Regions from separate parts of the Homo sapiens genome. Here region 2 is linked to region 1. The links are contacts of gene promoters, found by promoter capture Hi-C in human tissues and cell types (Jung and others, 2019). All regions are on one chromosome and are shown on one strand. The core of a region is centred on a gene start or on the middle of the fragment in contact, and the rest is flanking DNA. Distances in the headings are between cores, read along the strand shown. Region 1 holds the start of PRPH2 (peripherin 2). Region 2 overlaps BICRAL (BICRA like chromatin remodeling complex associated protein).

Evidence for each region. The method cuts DNA at HindIII sites, captures the fragments that hold promoters and counts their contacts. A contact is called where the count stands out against the background at its distance.
Region 2: a fragment that was not itself captured here is called in contact with the fragment with the promoter of PRPH2 in region 1 in 2 of the 25 tissues and cell types used here (pancreas and spleen).

Annotation. Positions count from the first base shown.
Region 1 is chr6:42,721,155-42,723,854 of GRCh38, forward strand. PRPH2 (peripherin 2) reads right to left here and starts at 1,443. Exons shown (of 3, transcript NM_000322.5): 1 at 600-1,443. The coding sequence starts at 1,180. The HindIII fragment of the contact is 25,287 bases long and covers 1-2,700 here.
Region 2 is chr6:42,785,196-42,788,013 of GRCh38, forward strand. All of the region lies in intron 1 of BICRAL (BICRA like chromatin remodeling complex associated protein), which reads left to right. It overlaps LOC401261 (a long non-coding RNA gene), which reads left to right. Exons shown (of 2, transcript NR_134654.1): 1 at 1-136. Among named protein-coding and RNA genes, the nearest start is that of BICRAL, 4.6 kb to the left of the region's middle. The HindIII fragment of the contact is 4,014 bases long and covers 1-2,818 here.

The sequences.
Region 1 (2,700 bases), core at 193-2,692:
CAGAGTGACTAGTGACCTGCCCAAGGTCACAAGACCTTGAACAACAGAACCAAAACTTCACCCTAGATCTCATGACTTCCCCTTCCTATGCTCTTTCCAACATATCCAGACAAACATCTTGGGAATGGATGCTCAGGGTTGAAAGGTTGGAAAACAAGGGAACTAACTAGGAAATTTAAACTTCTGGGACTGAATCCATCTACTTTGAATGAATGGGACAAATAGCCAAATAGTACCTCAGTGTTTGTGATCTATGAATGACTTCCATCCCTCTGTATAAAGTGGACACACATTGCTGCCTGGCTCTTCATCCCAAGGGGCTCCTATCCAAACAGCTTATATAAATTGATACCTTCCTACCACCTTAGCCAATGTTAGGTTGAACCCTATGAAGTTGTCATTTTTTATGGGTCAAAGAGGTAGAATATTAGCAATTTCATATGGTTCCACCTGATACACCCTCACATACGCAGCAATAAGTTGTGCACCCGATGGAGAGGAAAAGGCACTGGGTGCGGGGAGAGGGGCTGGTCAGAGGCCTGAGCCTCAGTGTCCCCAATATATTCATAGCTCTGACCCCAGGACTGGAAGCCACTCACTCTTTGACTTCTTTGGAGGAAAAGTCCAGGTAGCGATTGCTGATCCACTGAATCTCAAACCAGTCCCGAAAACCGTTGTTGCCGCAGCATTTGAACTCGATCTGCAGCATGTCGATGGTCTTCTTCATGAAACACCTGCCAGGGGTGTCTGTGTCCCGGTAGTACTTCATGCCGTTCTTGAGCCCTTGGCCCAGGGTGTTCTCCAGCGAGCCCCGAAGCAGAAAGCAGCAGAGAGCCACAAGGAAGAGGATGATGTTGAAGAGAACACAGATAGCCAGGTACGGCTTCAGCCAGGGCTTCCATCTGGCATACTTGGCTGGGTCCAGGGCGTCGTAGCAGATCTTCCCAGCCAGCGAGTTGAAGACACAGGATAGCACCCCCATCCCTATCAATGAGTTGGGCACAAAATGGCTCTCAGAATTATTCATCACATCGCTCCTCTTTCGGAGTTCAATCTTCAGGAACAGTCCTAGGCTGAAGATGATGATGCCAGCCAACACGGAGAACCAGTTCATGAGCCAGAGCCCTTGGGCCAACTTGACCCGCTTCTTCTGGTCAAACTTGACTTTCAGTAGCGCCATGCTTGCCAAGTGTAGTCCGGGTTGCTTCCCACAGCACAGCTCCCACCCCAAACCTTAACGAGCCCAGAGGCGGAGACTTAGGGCCTTGGGAAAAGTGCAGATGGCCCAAGCTGTAGGGAGCTGCCCTGGGGGCTACCCATGTCGAGTCCCACTAGCCTGGGATCCCCGTGAATGCAGTAGTGGTGGCAGGGGTCTCGGAATCACAGCTTGAGCAGGGGATAGTCCTGGTCCTGGGCGTTGTTTCTTCAGCGCCCTTCCCAGCCAAGAAGGGGCAGCCTGAACGCTGCAGATTAAAAGTGGGATCCACAAGACATTTTGCTAATCTCTTTAGCCAGGTTCATCCCATTAGATAAAGCCATGCCACTCTCAAAACATGGTCAAAAGCAGCCTCCAGGTACATGCTGAACCAGAAAGCTCTGGGTACAGCTTGGAGAATCAGGAGCAAAGGGCAAGACTGGCCAGAAGAATGGGCTGTATCTGGATGTCTGGCTCAGACCGTGTTGCTCCCCAAAAGCATATTTCCAGGCCAATCTCCTTCAACATTTAAAACTTTCTGTAGGACAAATAAATTGTTATCCTCTCTGAGAAAAGAAATGACAGGGCCAGGCACAGTGGATCACGCCTATAATCCCAGCACTTTGGGAGACCAAGTTGGGTGGATCACTTGAGCCCAGGAGTTCAAGACCAGCCTGGGCTACATAGGAAGACCCCATCTCCACACACACACACACACACACAAAAAAAAAAAAAAAAAAATTAGCTGGGTATGGTGGCATGCACCTGTAGTTCTCCCAGCTACTCTGGAGGCTGAGGTGGCAAGATCACCTGAGCCTGGGGAGTTCAAGGCTGCACTGAGCCATGATCGTGCCACTGCACTCCAGCCTGGGTGACAGAGTGAGGCCCTGTCTCAAATTTTAAAAAGACAAAGAAAAGAAGAGAAGAAGGAAGGAAAGAAAGAAAGTGACAGATCGTGAGAAAACATTTGCAACTTGTAAAATTAAAAAGTAATATACAGTGGCCAGGCATGGTGGCTTATGCCTGTAATCCCAGTACTTTGGGAGGCCAAGGCAGGTGGATCGCTTGAGCCCAGGAGGTGGAGGTTGCACTGAACTGAGATCCCCACATTGCACTCCAGCCTGGGTGACAGTGAGACTCTGTCTGGAAAAAAAAAAAAAAGAATTAATATGCAAAAATGTTTTAAGTCTCACAAATTCACAATAAACAAAAATTCACAATCAAAAGACCAATAATCAACTGGAAAAATAGGCAAAAACCAGGAACAGACAATTCATAATTAGGAAACTTGAAAAGTCCAATAATCTGGAAAAGATCTCAACTTGGGTAATAAGCAGGAAAATGCAAATCCAAACAACAATAAAATACCAAACTTGGCCGGGCACAGTGGTTCACACCTGTAATCCCAGCAGTTTGGAAGGCCAAGGTGGGTGGATCACTTGAGGTCAGGCATTCAAGACCAGCCTGGCCAACATGGTGAAACCCTGTCTCTACTAAAAATACAA
Region 2 (2,818 bases), core at 227-2,726, 64 kb after region 1:
AAGTTATACAACATACAGGCTTCTAGGTCTAGCCAGGCCATCTAGTTTAGTCAAGACAGCTGTGTAACAAACGTAGCCTTGAGGCCTGGCACGGTGGCTCATGCCTGTAATCCCAGCACTTTTGAGGCTGAGGCGGGCGGATTACCTGAAGTCAGGAGTTAGAGACCAGCCTGTCCAACGTGGTGAAACCCCGTCTGTACTAAAAATACAAAAAAGCTAGCCGAGTGTGGTGGCAGGTGCCTGTAATCCCAGCTACTTGGGAGGCTGAGGCGAGAGAATCACTTGAACTGGGGAGGCAGAGGTTGCAGTGGCCCGAGACCCCACCATTGCACTCCAGTCCGGGAAACAAGAACGAAACTCCCATCTCAAAAAAAAAAAAAAGAATTGAATCCAGGATTGATCCAGAAATTGAGAATAGGGTAGAAAAGACCCTGATATAAAGACCTGAAGATAAATCCTTAAAAGAAAAGGTTGTTTCCTGAATTTTGAATTGTGGACATATCTTCTGGGTTTTGGGAAGTAGGATAGTCAAGTTATGTGGAACCTAATAGCAGAATATGGATAAAAACACAGGTCAGGGCCAGGCACAGTGGCTCACACCTGTAATCCCAGCACTTCGGGAGGCCGAGGTGGGCGGATCACGAGGTCAGGAGTTCGAGACCAGCCTGACCAACGTGGTGAAACCCCGTTTCTACTAAAAATACAAAAATTAGCCGGGCTTGGTGGGCACATGCCTGTAATCTCAGCTACTCAGGAGGCTGAGACAGGAGAATGGTTTGAACCTGGGAGACGGAGGTTGTAGTGAGCTGAGATCGCGCCACTGCACTCCAGCCTGGAGACAAAAAACACAGGTCAGGAAGAAGCATCTAGAGCAGGTGATGAATAGATGACCTTACTAAAATGAGAAAGAACCAAGTCAGTGATGAAATCATTAATTTCTCTGGATTAAGGATCATGGATTTTATTTTGTGCTTTCTCTTGTTGATTCTTCTCAAATCGTTGTGTTTAGTAATTGCTAGGGAGAGTAGTTTAAAACTTAGATTTTTGATGCAGATGTCAGAATTATACCATCTTTGCATATGTCCACATTGGAAAGTTTTTGTAAGGAGCATTTGTTGGATACCTCTGTGCAGTCTGTGTCCAGTCTAGACCACTAGGTGGGTGGAGTGACTTCCAGTTTTTGAAGGGAAGTCACTTCTGGTTTTTCTCCCCTTGTTTTTTATGGTAAATGCCAAAGTAATTATAATCTTTGACTAGACTAAAATCCAATAAAGCTTGAAAGGAGGGGGAAATCTAAAACTGCTTAGAGGGAAACAGTAGCTTCTTTAACCTTGTTGGAATTTTAAGACCGGCAAGATCTCTGCACTCATGAAATTTACAGTATAGTGGGGAAGGACAGAAAATAGTTAAAAAATCAAGATAATGACAGATTAAGAAAAAATATTAAGTGGCTGGTGGATCTAAAAGAGTATGTTGGGAATGACCATTTTGGCTAGTAAGGGTCAAAGAAAGTCTTTTCATAGAGGTGATATTTGAGCTGAGACGTGAAACATGAACTTGTGCTAGCCATGTGAAAAGCTGGGGAGACATTTCAGACCTGGGAACAAGTTCAAAGACCTGGAAGGCTGGTTGTTAGACTGGAGAGAAGGCTCCTCTGAGCAAGGGGAGAAATTATGAATAGGGTAGGAATGAGATGGAGTTGGAGAGATCCTATAGGTCGTCTTGTATTACTCCATAGGGGGATTTTTGGATTTAATTCTAATGGCAATGAGAGGGGTTTTAATTTGGGCAGTGATAATGTTTTTAAAAATAACTGGCTATTTAGAGGAAGAGAGGAAACAGGGAAGTTAGGAGGCTATTGTAGTCAGCCCAAGATCGATAGTATCTCAGGCAAGTAAAGTGGCAATGAGATACAGCAGAGTAGACAGCAACTTTTACATATGTATTTTGGAGGTGGAATCAGAAGGATTTGCTTAATGGGTTGGCTGTGGAGGGAGAGGGAGGAATCAAGGGTGCCTTCAGGTTGCAGGCTCCAGCCTTGGGCTGCTGATGGTACCATTTGCTGGTTGGAGAAGACTGGAGGAGGAACAGGTGGAGAGGAGTGGGTAGCAAGAGTTCTGTGTAAATACTTGGGAGGCATCCAAGCGGAGAGTTAAGTAGGCACTGAATATTTAAGTTGAGCTGAGGGGAGTGATCTAGACTGGACATAAATTTTGGGAGTCACTAGTATACAGATGGCATGTCATGGAACTGATTGAGATTGTTTGTGGCCTTAAGATCAAGCCCTGCGAGACTGGAGTAATAAAACTCTGGTCTCCCACACAGCCAGCTCTGTGTGGGGAAAAAAAAAAGCCCTAAAACACTAACAACGGCTAAAGCTTGGGCAAAGGAGACTGAAAAGGTTCAGCCATTAAAGTGGGAGAGTATTTTATTATTTTCAAGAAAGAGGGAATGGTCACCTCTGTCAAATGCTGCTGAGAAGTTACACAATGAGAATAGAGAAATGTCTATTTGGATTTGACAACATGATGGTGACTGTTTTGACAAGTGGTCCAAGCCACATTGGGATGCTTCGAAGAGAGAATAGGAAGTGAGGTGAATATCGACAGCTCGTTAGGGAAATTTTGCTGCTGTAAAGTGGAGAGAAGCAGCTTAGTGGCTTCAGAGGGAGATGGGGTCAAAGAAGAGGGCTTTTTTTTTTTTTTAATTTTTTTTTAAGACAAGATGTCACTCAGTCATCCAGGTTGGAGTGCAATGGTGCAAATTACGGCTTACCACAGACTCAACCTACTGGGCTCAAGTGATCCTCCTACCTCAG